Linked DNA regions of Homo sapiens: all the other regions are linked to region 1. Evidence: promoter capture Hi-C in 16 types of primary human blood cells and fetal thymus (Javierre and others, 2016). All regions are on one chromosome and are shown on one strand. Each heading gives the region's core, a stretch centred on a gene start or on the middle of the fragment in contact. The rest is flanking DNA. Distances are from core to core; before and after follow the strand shown.

What was found. Contacts are between HindIII fragments. The CHiCAGO score rates a contact against its expected background, and 5 or more counts as called.
Region 2: a contact is called between a fragment that was not itself captured here and the fragment with the promoter of AQR in region 1, in 2 of 17 cell types (naive B cells and total B cells). The highest score is 7.2, in naive B cells.
Region 3: a contact is called between a fragment that was not itself captured here and the fragment with the promoter of AQR in region 1, in 1 of 17 cell types (non-activated CD4 T cells). The highest score is 5.3, in non-activated CD4 T cells.
Region 4: a fragment that was not itself captured here is called in contact with the fragment with the promoter of AQR in region 1 in 1 of 17 cell types (total B cells); the score reaches 5.9 in total B cells.
Region 5: a fragment that was not itself captured here is called in contact with the fragment with the promoter of AQR in region 1 in 1 of 17 cell types (total B cells); the score reaches 6.0 in total B cells.
Region 6: a fragment that was not itself captured here is called in contact with the fragment with the promoter of AQR in region 1 in 5 of 17 cell types (non-activated CD4 T cells, total CD4 T cells, activated CD4 T cells and 2 more); the score reaches 8.7 in non-activated CD4 T cells.

Annotation. Positions count from the first base shown.
Region 1 is chr15:34,968,459-34,971,158 of GRCh38, reverse strand. AQR (aquarius intron-binding spliceosomal factor) reads left to right here and starts at 1,417. Exons shown (of 35, transcript NM_014691.3): 1 at 1,417-1,620. The coding sequence starts at 1,546. RefSeq lists enhancers at 1,314-1,423, 1,474-1,623. The HindIII fragment of the contact is 5,969 bases long and covers 1-2,442 here.
Region 2 is chr15:38,669,355-38,672,054 of GRCh38, reverse strand. LOC105370775 (a long non-coding RNA gene) reads right to left here and starts at 160. Exons shown (of 2, transcript XR_007064584.1): 1 at 115-160. RefSeq lists enhancers at 316-435, 1,569-1,638. The HindIII fragment of the contact is 1,001 bases long and covers 939-1,939 here.
Region 3 is chr15:38,548,832-38,551,531 of GRCh38, reverse strand. All of the region lies in intron 2 of RASGRP1 (RAS guanyl releasing protein 1), which reads left to right. Among named protein-coding and RNA genes, the nearest start is that of RASGRP1, 15 kb to the left of the region's middle. The HindIII fragment of the contact is 2,632 bases long and covers 46-2,677 here.
Region 4 is chr15:38,648,931-38,651,630 of GRCh38, reverse strand. No RefSeq gene overlaps it. Among named protein-coding and RNA genes, the nearest start is that of LINC02694, 46 kb to the left of the region's middle. The HindIII fragment of the contact is 935 bases long and covers 961-1,895 here.
Region 5 is chr15:38,427,535-38,430,234 of GRCh38, reverse strand. No RefSeq gene overlaps it. Among named protein-coding and RNA genes, the nearest start is that of FAM98B, 25 kb to the left of the region's middle. The HindIII fragment of the contact is 672 bases long and covers 931-1,602 here.
Region 6 is chr15:38,458,545-38,461,244 of GRCh38, reverse strand. The region is part of intron 1 of FAM98B (family with sequence similarity 98 member B); the gene reads right to left. It also overlaps the pseudogene LOC100422645. Among named protein-coding and RNA genes, the nearest start is that of FAM98B, 5.8 kb to the right of the region's middle. The HindIII fragment of the contact is 9,186 bases long and covers 1-2,700 here.

The sequences.
Region 1 (2,700 bases), core at 168-2,667:
TAACTGAGAACTTGGAACAACTCAAATGTCTATCAGCAGATGAATAGTTTATCAAACTGTGGTATATCAGTAAAATGGAACGAATGTTAAGCAATAAAAAAGGAATGAACTACTGATACATGCAACAACATGAATCCATCTCAAAATCATTTCGTTGAGTGAAAGAAGGCATGCACTGTATTATTTCATTTATATAAAATTCCATGAAAAGCAAACTATAGTGACAGAAAGCAGATCAGTGGTTGCCTGAAAAGTGGGTGGGAACAGTGAAAGGCACAGATAGCAAAAGTTCACGAGGAAACTTTTAGAGGCTTTGATATGCTCATTATGATTTTGGCAATAGTTTCACAAATGTATGTTCATGTCAAAACGCATCAAATTTTACAACCTAAATATGTGTGGGTTATTGTATGTGAATTATTTTTATTATTATTTTATTTTTATTTTTTGAGGCTAGTCTCGCTCTGTCACCAAGCTGGAGTGCAATGGCGCAATCTCGGCTCACTGCAACCTCCGCCTCCCAGCTTCAAGTGATTATTCTCCTGAATCCGAGTAGCTGGAACTACAGGCGCGCGCCACCACGCCCGGCTAAATTTTGTTTTTTAGTAGAGATGGGTTTTCACCATGTTAGCCAGGCTGGTCTCAAACTCCTGACCTCAGGCAATCGGCCAGCTTCAGCCTCCCAAAACGCTGGGATTACAGGCGTGACTACCGCGCCTGGCTGGGTTATTGTATGTCAATTTTTACCTCCATAAAACTGTTAAGGCCTGTAATCCCTGCACTTTGGGACCCTGAGGCAGGCGGATTACCTAAAGTTGGTGAGTTCGAGACCAGCCTGACCAATACGGAGAAACCCTGTGTCTACTAAAAATACAAAAATTAGCTGTGCATGGTGGCGCATGCCTGTAATCCCAACAACACGGGAGGCTGAGGCAGGAGAATCGCTTGAACCCGGGAGGCAGAGGTTGCTGTGAGCCGAGATTGCACCATTGCATTGCAGCCTGGGCAACAAGAGCGAAACTCCGTCTCAAAAAAAACAAAACTAAACTAAAACACTGTTAAGGGCAGTTAAAACCCAGCCCATATTCCCAGGCTGTTTTTTTTGTTTTGTTTTGTTTTTTCTTTAGGGTTGAAAAAAAACTAAATCCCCATTCACCGCACACGGCACTCTTCACTAACCACGAGAAACCCCACCCAACACCATCCACCGGGTCCCTCCCTTGCCCTCCTAATCCCGCCAGCGAGGTGTCTTCTCTCTGCCGCCCGCTAGAGGGCGTGTACAGAGGAGGTCAAAGCTCTTGGCTCGCTAGCTCAGCCCCAACGCCTGCATGAACTTCCGGCTACACGCCATTCCGCTTCCCGAGGAACGCTTGGGCTGTTGTACGGGTTCCCTACGGGACTCTGAAGGCTGAGGATATCCGGCCCGGAGCGTTTGTGCGGCGCGGAGTTAAGCGCCCCGGCAGTAACTTAAGGGAAGTGGACCAGGGTTGCCGCTGCCCAGAGCGGTCCTTTAGTTTCCACTGGAGTGGAGGGAAGAGTGCTGCCATGGCAGCCCCTGCGCAGCCCAAGAAGATCGTGGCCCCTACGGTGTCCCAAATCAATGCGGAGTTCGTGACCCAGGTGAGCTCGGGCGAGTCTGGTGTGTGTGAGTGGGTATGGACGTCGTGGCCCCGAGGCCTGGTGGTGGGGTTTTTTTTCAGGATTTAGGAGTCCGGAGGAGGCATTCGTTTGTTAATTGATTCACACACGTCTTTTTACTGAGTATCAGCTCCGTGCCGGCCACTATGCTAGGTGCTGGGCATACCGTGGTGAAAGAAGCTGCCCTGCCCTGGGGAGTTCATGGCCCAAGGAAGACAGACGCATGAAAATAAAACTACTGTATGAGTTTTGCTGTGTTGGAGTTTGTCTCAGGAGCAATGGATTCAGAGAGGAGGGAACACCCCAGTCTATCTGAGACTGGCAAGTAGGCTTCGCAGCAGAGTGATGCTGGACTGCCTCTTCAAGTAGGAGTAGGCTTTTTCCTGGTCCTTAGAGTGTCCTGAGTTTTTGAGCAGCGATGAGAAACTGACAAGACACCTCCAAATAGACCTATCTAAAAACAGAGTAATTCTGTAGTTTGAGAGCGTTCATTTAGAATCTGTTTACTATCTTGCATTGTGAGCCACAGTTGGCTTTGGATAGGGAACCACAGTCCTGTGGTTGTCAGCATCATTCCTCATTCTTATTATTTATTTGTGAATTGCATAAGAGTGTAAGTAGTTCAATGTAGAAGTTATCATGCCCACCTGCTTCTTTATTCTTTATTCCTTGTCTCAACAGATTTGCCAGGGCAGAAGCCTAGGGAGTGATTTTGAATCCTCCCTTTCCCTTAGTCCCTACATTTCTACATTCTAAATATCTTTTGAATCTATCTGGTGTTCTACATCTCTGTCACCCTAAGCTTGGTTGCCATTGTTTTCTGCCTGGACCAAGGTATCGTAATCTGTTATATTGTCCTTCCTCTTGCTCTGCTCTAGCCCATTCTTCATGTTGCTTTCCGAGTGATTTCATACAAGTGCAAATCTCATCATATCACTTGCCTTCTTAAAATTTCTGCCTTCCGGCCGGGCGCAGGGGCTCACGCCTGTAATCCCAGCACTTTGGGAGGCCGAGGCGGGCGGATCACGAGGTCAGGAGATCGAGACCATCCTGGCTAACACG
Region 2 (2,700 bases), core at 190-2,689, 3.7 Mb before region 1:
GGAGGAGGTGAGGCCATCCACTATTGACCTAATCTGCCATCAGGCAAGGCCAAGTAAGTGGGCCTGCTGTTCTCCACACCCCCAGTCCCCAACAAGCATACAACACATACTCACACCCCGAAGCTGCAGCCTGTTCTCTCAGGACTTCCCCTTCAAAGCTGCCTTAGTGCTCTTCGTAACCTGATTTCACTTCTAAAAAACATGCTGTAGGGGAGGAAACACCCAGAGAAATCTGTCCCAGCTCTGTATCACCACCCCTCTCACTCCAGATGGTTCTAGTTGCGAAAGTTTGCATTCTGAGCTTTCAGATACGACTGTGCTCCACATCCCCTCCACCCATAGACCTTCGGAAATACCCCACTGTCTGATCAGGGGAACCTCCCATTTGTGTACTCATGTATTCTCAAATTAGGACTATTTACTTTGTCTTGGTATCCTGCACACATTATCACTTTTTAATTCTGACCCTAAGAAGCATGTACTGTTATCCTGGTTCAACGGAGGGAAGATGGAGACTTTAGGGAGATTACTCTCTCAGTAGGAAAACAGAATTCTAACCAGGTCTGTCTCCATAATGTTGCTCGTTCTACAATTAATTTCTCCCTAAACTGAACTCTCAAAAGGAATTTTTATTTTTTCTCTTAGGAAAATGAATCGATGCCCCAAAATTATTTTTAAAGCAATACAATGACATTCTTGGTTGCATATACAAAATCGATTGCCTTCTTTTTTTTTTTACCAATATAATCCCCACTTTGATTTTTGTTTCCTACAGCCCATGTCTCAAAGATGCTGATCCCACCCTCAGATCCAGAATGGGACAAACTAGCATATGAATATCACTTTCCTCTTGGCAGTGATTGGTTCAGAAATGGCCATGTGAGCCAATTCTGGTCAATAAGACTAGAGAATAGATTTGATAATGTCTTCTGGAAGCTTCTTTCTCAGTTTTAAGAAAGAACCACAAATAGTAGTCTCTCTCTCACTGAATGTGAATAAGAAAGAAAGCAGCCACAATGACTACTGATAGCCATCCCACCGTAAGAAGAGCCAGACTTAGGATGAAGCCAACCAGCCAACCCTGGGAATGTCACAGAAGAGAATGAGAGTAATGAGACATCACTTAATGACATCACTAAGACATTGGCTCAACCAACCCTGAGGAACACCCCCCACCTCTGGACTTCCTGCCTTGTAAGCAAAGAAATGTCATATGACGTTAACTGATTTGAATTAGGTTTTCTGTTTTTCACAGCTGAAAGCATCTTTAACTGATGCTGGGATTCACCACATTTCCTGCATCTGCAGAACTAGGCAATCATCATTCACATCTTAAATTATGGTCTGGAGGTACCACACACTCCTTAATCAACAAACAAAATGCAGATTTTGCAGGCGGTGAGTTCCGTGTGGTGCCATAAAGATGGCCACACATTCTTTGTCATTGGGAGGCCATTGAGAGTTGACATAAATTTCCCCTTCTCTTGAATCTGGGCTGGCCTTGTAGTTATTTTGACCAATAGAATGCAGTAGAAGTGACACTTAGTAATTTCCAAGGCTGACCCTTAAGAGATTTTTCAGCTTTTCTATGTGACTTGCAACACTTTCTTGAAACACAGCCACCATGCAAGACATCTACCTACCCTGTGGCCACCAGTCTGTGAAGAGCCCACACTAGCCATAATAAGAGAGACAGAAAGAGGGTCAGGGTGGAATAGCACTGAGGTACCAGATGTGGTAACACCTTTTGAAATGTAGCCAAGTGAAACCAGCAGAAGCAATATAGAACTGAATGACTGCCTAGTAGAGCCCTCTCCAAATTTATGACTCACAAATAAAATGGTGGTTGTTTTAAGCCACTAAATTGTGTGGTAGTTTGTTATATAACAATAGACAACTGGAACTGGAAGAAAACATAGAAACTTCTTTTTCAAAAGCTTCAATAGCAGTAGGAAAGCAAAAGCTTTCTGTGAACGCTTGTCTAAATACAAACTTCATTATCCAGCACACTCTCCTTCAAGTGCCTCAGTTAATCCCAGTTTTAAGGATGTGTGGCCGTGTTATAAGCTGCATATACACTGCACACGAGTGTCTATAAAGATGATGCTGCTTTATCCCATTCCTTTCTGCTTTTCCCTACCACAATTAGATCTCAGGTTCTTATCAAAGTTTTTAAAAGGCCAAACACAGTGGCTCATGCCTGTAATCCCAGCGCTTTGGGAGGCCAAGACAGGCATATCGCTTGAACTCAGGAGGTCAAGACCACCCTGGGCAATGTGGTGAAACCCATCTCTACAAAAAAATACAAAAATTAGACAGTGTGGTGCACACCTGTAGTCCCAGCTACTTAGGAGGCTGAGGTGGGAGGATGGCTTGAGCCCAGGAGGTAGAGGTTGCAGTGAGCCAAGATCACACCACTGCACTCCAATCTAGACAGCAGAATGAGACTCTGTCTCAAAAAAAAAAAAAAAAAAAAGGAAAAGAAAAGAAAAAAATGTATGTGAGAGGGTGATTGATGATCAAAGGGAGCCCACTTTCTTGGTCTCATGAACATTCTCCGTCAAAACACACACATATACAACCCCTAAGTGCCAGTTCTGATTAGACTTGGGTCTTACTATGCTTGGCTTGGCAGGATTGCACTATTGTTCAAACATTTGTCCCATAAAAAATCAGCAGAATTTGAATTAACCACTAGTT
Region 3 (2,700 bases), core at 112-2,611, 3.6 Mb before region 1:
GTATAATTCCATATCATACATTGTCGTGGATGATCAATACAAGCTTGTCAATAAGTTATTGCTGGCAAAAAAGAAGCCTTCAGTTTTGTTTCTGAGATTGTCATTTCCTTAAAACCACAGCGCTTGGACTGGTCGCTTTGTAACTCAGAGCCTCCGTTTCTCGCTGTGATACCATTAAAATGATTTCTGAGACTTAAAGTGTCTGGAAGAAGGTGTAATGGGGTATCTCCATCACGATATTAAACTTGAAGAAAGTCCTTCAGGAATTTGCATATTTTAAGAATGTGCTTTTGGATATATTTGAAGAGTCAATATTCTTAGGATGGAGTCTTAGAAACCCAACAAATTTTTAACTCAGTCTTTAAAAATTATTAATTTAGACTGTTTCTTGTTCTTACATAGACTTTGTGGTAAGATATACATAAGATCAACCACTAGCATAGACTTTTAAAATATTATTTTAGTAATAGCTAACTTTTGAGCATTTACTATGAATAACACAGTGTTTATGTTAATATTTTACATATGTAGTCTCATTTAGTTCCCACTATTTTATAAGTTCTTGTATTTGCAAAGATCTAACTGTCCCTCAGCATTTATACTTACTTTATAAATGTTAATAACTTTTAAAATTATTCATGTTCACCATAGAGAACGTAGAAAATACAGACTGGCAAAAAGAAAAAAATTACCGTCACTCATTTTACCATCAAGAGCAAGATAAGCACTATCAACTTTCATGGGTGTGCCTTTCTTGATTCTCTTCTATGGATATTTACATGTATTATAATCACAGTAACTTTTTGGTGATAAACTCACTATAACTTTTTGCTTCCCATAATTTATATCTTAAACAATTTTGATCTTGAAATCAATATTATTATTTATAAAGAGGTATGCTAGCACACAAGGTTGCTCTTCTATTTTAAAATTGATTTTTTAAAAATAATTCTGCTTAGTCCCTTCAAATATAGGACATAAAAGTGAAGGTTGCTTGGCAACTGAAATGATGGTAATGAGGAATTAAAGACATTACAAGAAAAGAAGAGTACTCAGTTCTTTTCAATGCTACATGCTAATTGCAGTAACTATGGCTGATTACAGTTGTAATAAATGAAGGAAACACAAAACTTCCATTAAAAATTCTTGATGTGAACTTTTTTTTATTTTGTATTACAGTGAAAGTGAGATGGGGTTTGCTGAAGAGAAACTTTACTTTCAGAAACAAGAAAAGATCTTTTGTCTGTATTAACTTTTTTTTCTTTTCTTTTCTTTTTTTTTTTTTTTTTGGCGACAGAGTCTCACCCAGGCTGGAGTATGGTGGCATGATCTGGGCTCACTGCAACCTCCACCTCCTGGGTTCAAGTGATTCTCGTGCCTCAGCCACCCGAGTAGCTGGGTGTGCACCACCAGAGCCAGCTAATTTTTCTATTTTTAGTAGAGATGGGGTTTCACCATGTTGCCCAGGCTGGCCTTGAACTCCTGAGCTCAAGAGATCCACCTGCCTCGTCCTCTCAAAGTGCTGGGATTACAGGCATGAGCCACTGTGCCCAGCCTATTAACCTTCTAAGGGAATATTAAGTTAGCAACTGGGTGAGATACGTAGCAGAAGCACAAAGATTTGGTACATCTGTGATTCTTCAGCAGCACAGAAGAGATGGTGGGCAGTGGTGTGAAGGAAGCCATGTTAACTACTTGTTTTTTTTTCCCCAAAGAGTAGTCAAGGGCCCTGGAGAGATTGCTGAGGTTCTCACTAGAGCCTTCAAGCAGAAGATGCTTCCTAGGATGGAGATGTACTTAGAAGGACACCAGTGATTCATTGAAATGGACAAAGGGAGTAGAGACTAGAGGGGGAAGAGGGAAGCAGAGGGGAAGAGGGAAGCAGGGATTGCCGGTTTTGTAACAAAGAATGCAGTCACCAGAAAAGTAAGGCAGTTTGGGATGAAGCCATCCAAGAACTTATCAAAGGTATATCTTTGCCAGAAAGTGAGGATTTCTAGTTGGAGGAGCAAATGGAGCTATGTCTGTCTCCTCTTCACTGATCTATCTGAATCATGGTATAGGACTTGGTTTTGTAATCTTGTGAACAGCCTCATTTTAAGGGGGAACCCACAATATTCAGGAAGCCAAGAAATGTCCCTGTTAATCATCTATGAGTCTATCTTGCTGGAATGTAGTTATAGACTATGGAACATCCTTAAATCTGATGAGCAATTAATCACTGGTTAATTTTGGATTCACTTATTAAATGCCAAATGCATAGGGGATTTTTCACACTCTCTGCCCTTCCTCCTTCCCAGTTCATGAGCACCACAATTGGATTCCATATTTACTTCATCCAAACCTACCTTGGTGGGTTCACCATTTACCTCCAGTCCTGGGGAGTTCAGTCCAGACTGTGAATTACTGCCATTTCTGAGGGGCTGCTTCCCAGATGGGAGCCATAGGACCCTCGCCTCTGGCCCTGGACTCAGTCTTCGTTTATTGCCAAGGATGAGCACTTGCTCTCGGGAATGGATGCTGGGGTCCACCTGACTGTTTGGCTTGCTTTAATCCCTAAAGGAAAAGCTCCCTACATTTATTGTGTCTGTGGTCCCCCCACCCTCTCTGTCCCAGTGCCTAAGAGTCTCATTACCTTGTCAGTAACTACCAGTGTCTACCTGAGATGGACTAAGCTTCATTTAACTGAGAAAGTGCACC
Region 4 (2,700 bases), core at 179-2,678, 3.7 Mb before region 1:
GCAGCCCCTTGTAAAGGCGCTTCCTCTGCTCGTACACCAGCTGAGAGCTTTTGTACCTGTTCTCTGAAAGATTCAGTGGCTCTAGAAACTCCTGTTAGAAGCTTGAAGACTCTGGCCCCAGCTAGGAAAGAAGATCTGACTTCAAACATGAGAAACACTAATGAAGAATTCTTCATCCTGCTCCACCCACCCCAGCACACGCCCCAATCAAACAAACCTAAACCCACACTTCAGGGGTGTGTCCCCGCCACCCCCAGCTACTTATTCAAAGATAAGTTGACTTAATTGTTGTTGTGAGAGAATGGTGAAGTGTGCTTATTCCATGTGGGGTGGGGGTTTAAAACAGTTGAGCAAGTCAGGGAGCCATGGAGCTCTTCCTAGGAAATAAAATCCTTTGTGTGTCCTATAGGAATGAGTTTTAAAATCTGGTGCTCAAAATGGAACAACAAATGGGAGCAGACACCAGTAAAGAATGGGTTAAATATAATATGATGTAACCATAAATAGATAACTGAACAGTTGCAAAAAAAAGAATGAGGAAGCTTTTTGGGCACTGACATGGAACAATTACCAAGAGATATTAAGTCACACAAAAGCGAGGTATGGCACAATGTGGATAGCCTGCTGCTGCTGTATAAAATATCTCCCCTATACACACAGATTATCTAAAATCCACAAGACAGGATAAATTTTACACTGGCTCCCAGTGCCCTAGAAGGTTTGAGCCCCAGGTCTCCTCAAGTGTAACCTTCCCAATATTGGCCTTATTGACTTTCTTCCTCTTCCTTTCCTCATTCTCCTATCAGATTAGTTGCCTTTGGGAGGGAAACTTCATGCCTGGGGAACCAGGTCAGAAAGACATTTCATGGCCTATCTTTTTGTACTCTTTGCATTTTAAAATGTAAATGTGTTGCCTATTTAGAAAATAATAATATGGTTTAAATTAGGTGGTCAAAAGCTTAATGGAGTAGCAAGCCTAATTCTGGGGGTGCAAATCTCCCACCTGCCAATGGCAAATCTGGTTAATCCAGCCAGCAACCATCCCCTAGGCAGCCTAACAGCCTAGTGGCAGCAGGTACAACCTGCAGATTATCTTCAGAGGAATGTGGCAGCCTGTGAAGCACTCTGCTTTCTGAACCTGCACCTTTCAAATAGACTCCAGGATCATGCCAGGCTGGGTCAATTTCACCAGGCTGTCAACATCCCATAGCACAAATCTTAACATATAAATGAATTGGACTTCACAGGTTCTCAACTGACAAACTTTCTGGGAAAGGATTTTGGTCAGAAAGTTCATGAGCTTCTGGGTAATTCAAAATAAAACAAAATATACTATTGATTTTTCTAACTGTAAATTTAAGACTTGTTCAATGCAGATTACTTAAAGAAAAAAAAAATACACAAGGGCCAAGAATTCTCCTCACTGAACATGTTATTGGGGTCATCGCTTCATGGCAATGTATAGAGGTTGATATGGTTTGGCTGTGTCCCCACCCAAATCTCATCTGGAATTGAAACTTCCATAATTTCCACATGTCGTGGGAGGTGATTGAATTACGGGGACGGGTGTTTCCCATGCTATTCTCGTGACAGCGAATGAGTCTCACAAGATCTGATGGTTTTAAAAAGGGGAGTTTCCCTGAACAAGCTCTCTTCTCTTGTCTGATGCCATGTGAGATGTGCCTTTCACCTTCCACCATGATTGTGAGGCTTCCCCAGCCATGTGGAACTGTAAGTCCATTATATACCTCTTTTATAAATTGCCCAGTCTCAAATCTGTCTTTATCAGCAGCATGAAAGCAGACTAATACAGAGGTCGTCTTCTTGTTGTTTATAGCTGCATAGTATTCCACTGAGTGGACCTTCCATTGCCTTATTCAACCAATTTCCAAGCTTTTGCTATTATAAACAATGCTGCAATGTATAGTCACATATAAAAGTATTTGTGTAGTTTTACAACATATTTTTGGATAGATTCCTAGAAGTTGGATTACTGGATCAAAGGGAAAATGCATATGTAATTTTACTAGATATATCAAATTCCCATTCATGAGGCTTATGCCATTTTACATTCCCACTAGCAATGTATGGAAGCATCTATTTCACCACAGCCTCACCAACAAAATATGCTGTCAATCTTTTAGATTTTTGTCAGCCTGACAGGAGAGAATATTGTATCTCAATGAAGTTTGAAAGTGTATTCACTGAAAGTATGGTTGAGAGTCTTTTCATATATGCAGGATCCATTTTCCTTTCTTTTTCTGTGAACTCTCTGCTCATATTTCCAACCCATTTTTCATAGATGTGTTGGCTTTTTTCTTCTATATTTTTTGAAGCTCTTTACATATTATGGTTATTAACTCTTTGTGCTATAAGTTGCAAATGTTTCTTCCCAGTTTCTATAGCCTTTCAAAATACATATATTGTTAACCTCAGATGAAGAAACTAAAGGATAAAAGATTTAAGGATGCTTCCCAAGGCCATGAAATAAAAGCTACACACATTTCATTGATAACAAATTGTAGGTGCACAGTAGTTAATGACAAGAGGTCCCTCTGCAGACTCTGTCTGGATAGCAGTACATTTAGACTCAGAGCTCCAGAGTCCAGATCTACTGGATAATCTCAGGAATGTCAACTCTATGTGTGAGGCCGCTATTTCCATTTTTCTGAAAAACCAAGCAGAGCACCCTGTTTCCAT
Region 5 (2,700 bases), core at 17-2,516, 3.5 Mb before region 1:
CCCCACTGTATCCTTTCTGAATTCTTGACCCAAAGAATCCACGAGGTTGGTGAAATAGTTATTTGAAGTTGGCAAATAGGTTTGTTAAGCAGCACAGATAACATGAACTTAATGGTATAGAAATAAGCTTCTAAAGAGAAGAAATTCAAACAGATAAGTTTACATTGGGCTACAAGCAGTCACTATCTTGATCTGTCATATTTCCATTTCCATCTTATCTTTAAATTTTTTTTTTGAGATAAGGTCTTGCTCTACCACCCAGGCTGTGTGTGTGTGCATACATATTCAATGGCGGAGAGCAGGGTGCATTTCACAGTACCTACCATGCCATGCTTTAATGTAGAAGAATTACCATTCAAACCCACATCATGGCTCACTGCAGCCTCAACGTCCCAGGCTCATGTGATCCTCCCACCTCAGCCTCCTGATTAGTTGGGAGTACAGGCACACACACCACATCTGGCTAATTTTTGTATGTTTTTGTAGAAATGAGGTCTCACCATGTTGCTCAGGCTGGTCTTGAACTCATGGGCCCGAGTGATCTTCCTGCCTCAGCCTCCCAAAGTGTTGGGATTACAGACATGATCCACTGTGCCCAGCCTCCATTTTACCTTTAATACCTATTTTTTCCACATTCCTATTTATATTAGTTTTGTGTTGAAAATTAATTATGTAGAGTCAGAACTCTTTCAGGACTAATGCAATGTTTGTTTTTGTGTGATGCTAGATATTAAAAGGAGGATGTCCCTGGTGACACAATGTCAAAATTATTCTGATCCATTTGGAACATTTCCAGTGAAAATGAACAGGCGCTGCTTAAGGAAGTCAAGGACACAGGAAAAAAATATGATCAGAAAACATCCTCTAGGGACTAATTTAGGGTAAAAGCAATATATAGCAGCTCATTTCTCCTCTTTCCCTGTTAAAGCTTAATTAGCCAAAGACCACTGGGCACAATGTATAATCTGACAAAATCAGATGTATTGATTTTCAGTGAGGGAGCACATGGCAGAAGCACTGTGGCAGACCACTCAACAAGAAGGAGCAGGAAACGTCTTCTGTACAGTGTGTGTTTCACTGAAGGATTTTGAGCAGGATCCAGGAACTGAACATCGGTTCTGGATTGGAGGCTGCTTCTGAAGTAGGATTAGGAAAGTGGGGATTAACTAGGGATTAGGATTGCCACGGGGTGTCCCCTGTAATACATGGATGTAGCAGAATAGTTCCAGGGACATCATCAATAAGAAAGCAGTGGTCACTCATAGAGCAGGTCTCTATGGTATTGGAAAGAGATGCTCTCTGTTCTCTGGGATCTCCCATTGTAAGGACTTGAACTTGGAGTTATTCCATCATCGCGTGGAAAGAATTTGCCTGAGAATTAAATCAACATGGATTAAAGCAGAGCTGGGGCACACTGGAACCCCTCAATCTAGCTCTGCCTAAAAAATCCATCTCTTGAATTGCCCATCACAGAGGCTAATACGCTCCTGTTTTTTAAAGCTACTTTGTTCAAGCTACTTTTAGGAGTTACTCTTGACTAATACAAGCCTGATAACGTTTTCTGAGGTTAAGATGCTCTCACCTGAACTCCAAAGATAAGCTTGTGTGTGTGTGTGTGTGTGTGTGTGTGTGTTTGTATGTGTGTGTGTGTGTGTGTGTGCATACATATTCAATGGGGGAGAGCAGGGTGCATTTCACAGTACCTACTATGCCATGCTTTGATGTAGAAGAATTACCATTCAAACCCCCATACTCTTGACATTTATATGAGGTTATATTTCTAAGTAACTAATAAATAACATCTAATATTCAATAAATTGACTTCTGTTTGTTGAATGCATATTTTGTACAAGGTGCTGAACTATATACCCTGAGGGGAAAATAAATAATAATCCAATATCATCCTGTTTTCAAAGCTATAGTTACTAGTTATAGTCAAGGCCAAAAGTAACATAGGCAGTCAGTCTTAATAGCACCTCAGAGGCAGGAGAGGCCATTACAGACCAGCAGCAGTGGAGAAAACTCTTCCACCAAGGCACAGGAAGGGAGTGGGGCTTTGACTGAAGAGTAAAATTTCAACCTGGGTGAGAAAGAAGACATTCCAGAAAGGGGTTAAGGTAAGGAAGTTGAAAACAATTATGGAAAGAGTAACCAGGACAGCTCGGGCCAGGAGAAGACCTCCAAAAGGGAGAGGAATGGAATATAAGTTTGGAAATGTAGATTGAGACCAGTCTTGAAACACCAGACCTCCAGATTTCTATTTTATCTGGTAGGAACTAAAGTGCCAATGCAGATTTCTGATTAGAGGAATATCAAGACAAAAAGAGGTTTTTAGTCAGGCATGGTGGCTTGTGGTTGTAATTCCAGCTACTCAGGTACTCAGGAGGCTGAGGTGGGAGGATTGCTTGAGGCCAGAAGTTTGTGACCAGCCTGGGTTATATAGCTAGAGCCAGTCTCAAAAGAGATGAAGAGAGAGAGAGACGAGAGAGAGAGATTTTCAGGAAAATATATTTGGCAATTCAATGTTTCTGACTGGAGAAGAGAATGGAGAATGCTGGATCCTGCTGCTATTCTTTACACAAAAGGTGACAGAAGTGTGAGTGAGCCTCTCAGCCAAAGGCAGGATGCAGCTAACCTCACCCCTACCTCTACATCCCATACCACCACCTGCTGGAGTAATTCAGGTTGATCCTCTTGTTG
Region 6 (2,700 bases), core at 21-2,520, 3.5 Mb before region 1:
TCATAGTAAACATCTTATATCCTCTTATTTGCTTTCATTTCTGCAATAAAGCAATACTCATAAACTCTTGAAGAAATTTAATTCATATTGATGTAAGTTTTTTTAACTGAAATGTCAATAATAAAAACCAACAAGAACTGATCAAATCACAAAAAATTCTGAATTTGGAAAAAAAAATCCAATCTTTAATGCCTTAGCTCATCAGATGAAGTAAAAATAAAAAGAGGAACAAATAAATGCATTTAACATACCTGACCATCTAGTAACAATCAAAATCGCAATAGTGGCTAACATTTAGAAAGTGCTAACTGTATGTTGGGTCAGTGCTAAACAATTTATATAAATTGTCTCATTTAGTTGCCACAATACCCTATAAGGTAGATACTATTATTAGCTTCATTTTACAGATGAGGAAGCTCAGGATGATAAAGGTAAATAATTCATCCGGGATGGCCATAATCATAGCTAACAACTGTCCCGGAACTGAGCCACACAACCTACCTCCATAGCCCCACACTCTTAGCCTGTATTGTTCTGTCACCATCCAGAAATGTATCTAATTGTCTTAGGCAATAGAAGTGTCTAAGTATATTCTGCTAGATAACCGAATAAGAATATGAAAGCACTTTTCTGGCTAGAACAGTACTTCTTAAACTTTTATGTGCATATGAATCTCCTGAGGGTCTTGTTAAAATAAAGATTCTAATTCAGTAGAGCTGGAATGATGTCTGGGATTCTGCATTTCTACTCCCCAGGTGATGATGACGCTGCTAGTCCACAGACCTCTCTTAAGCAGCATAGTACTTATTTTTTTACTTTCATTTAAAAAAAAAAACTCTCAATATTTATCATCACTCCTTCTCCTCTTGCAGTACATGAGAAATTACAGCAGGCATTTAAGAGTCTATTTATGCTACATTTAGCAACTGTTTAGTGTTTACCACATTTATTTCATACTGGCTTTGATTTCCAATGCCATTCTGCGTTTACAGAGAATAACCATGCTCCTAGTTTGTTCTATATATTCTTAGTTATTCATCAAAGTGCTACTGTTATTCCAAACACTGGGAACATCTCCCCTAGGCCTAGGCCCTCCCTCAAAGCCTCATACCCTGGAAGCATAGTTGCTGGTCAGACACTACTTCAAGCTGGGTGATCCAAATCTTCAGTCCATTAGGGCTGCTGGCAACTCTCCTCAACAATACAACCAGGGCCTAATTTACTTTCTATTTTCATCAGCCAAGAGATAAAACAGAAGACCCTTTCTTTTCCCATCATTTACCCAACCTATTGTCTTTGCCCCTCATCCAACTCTCTACCTCTCTCTGCTTCCTAAAAATGTCCACTATCTTTCATCTACAACACAGTGGATATTTTGCTATACTGTCCATTTCTTCTCAGAAAGATTATTCCTCTCTTGTTTTCACTCTGGATTCTCCATTTTGGACCCAAACTGAGAAGCCCAGAGCTGCTGCTAGGAGACTGGAGCCAGGGTACCCAAGGGAGCCCATCTCCGGGCGCCCACCCTTGGTACAGGCCACCTCGCTTCGCAGCCCAGGGAGGAAAGGAGAGGGGGTATGTAAACAGCTGTGGGAGTCGGGAGTCTCAGGAGTTGCAGCAAGCCCAAACCCAGGCCCCCCAGCCCAGCCCAGACCATGGGCTCACTGGTTCTTCCACCCAACCAGCCCGCACCTGTGGAATTAGATGGAGCACAGTTCCATCATCACCCAGGCACAGGGGAAGATGCCCTGGTGCTCACCAAGCAAGGCCTGGTCTCCAAGCCCTCCTTAAGAAGCCTCGTGGATATAACATCTTCAAGGCCCTTGTCTGCTATTTTCGCATCCAGCATGGCCAGTCAAGCTCTTCCACTGAGCTCATCCATATAAGGAGGAAGCCAACACCACTGCTAAGTCGGATCTGCTCCAGTGTCTCCAGTACCAGTTTTATCGGATCCCAGGGACGTGTCTGCCCCAAGGTGACAGAGGAAGATCAAAGGAGGATCTGTGTGGTCACTGACCTGGATGAAGCCCTTGTGCATCTTTAAGCCCAGCAACAATGCTAGCTTCACAGTGCCTACAGAGATTGAGGAGACCACTCAAGCAGGTTTCTGTCCTCAAAAGAGCTCACGTGGAAAGAGACGAATGAGAGAACTCTTTGAATGTGTTCCCTTCACTGCCAACCTGGCCAAGTATGCCAACCCTGTGACGGATCTGCTGGCCGGTGTGGGGTGTTCCGGGCTCACCTATTCCATGAGTCCTGTGGTTCCACCAGGGCTGCTAAGTCAGGAACCTCAGCCGCCTGGGGAGGAACCTGAGGAAAACCCTCATCCTGGACAACTTGTCTGCTTCTTACATCTTCCACCCAGAGAATGCAGTGCCTGTGCAGTCCTGGTTTGATGACATGGCAGATACTGAGTTGCTGAACCTGTTCCCAGTCTTTGAGAAGCAGAGCAGAGGACATCTATACCAGCCTTGGGTAGGGGCAGGCCTCTTAGCCTTCCCTGCTTCCAAGCAGTGGTCATCCCAGTAAGGGTCTTTCCTATGCTGTGCCTTTAGGATCACCTGACGGACAGAGTGAAAGCTGGAGGGCCTCACCACATGGGCCTGGAAATAGTGAGAAGTGATTGTAAGGAGCTTTAGGACAGCTTAGATGCCAAGTAGGCAAATGCCAGACCAACAATACCCAGAACTACCTGCTCCC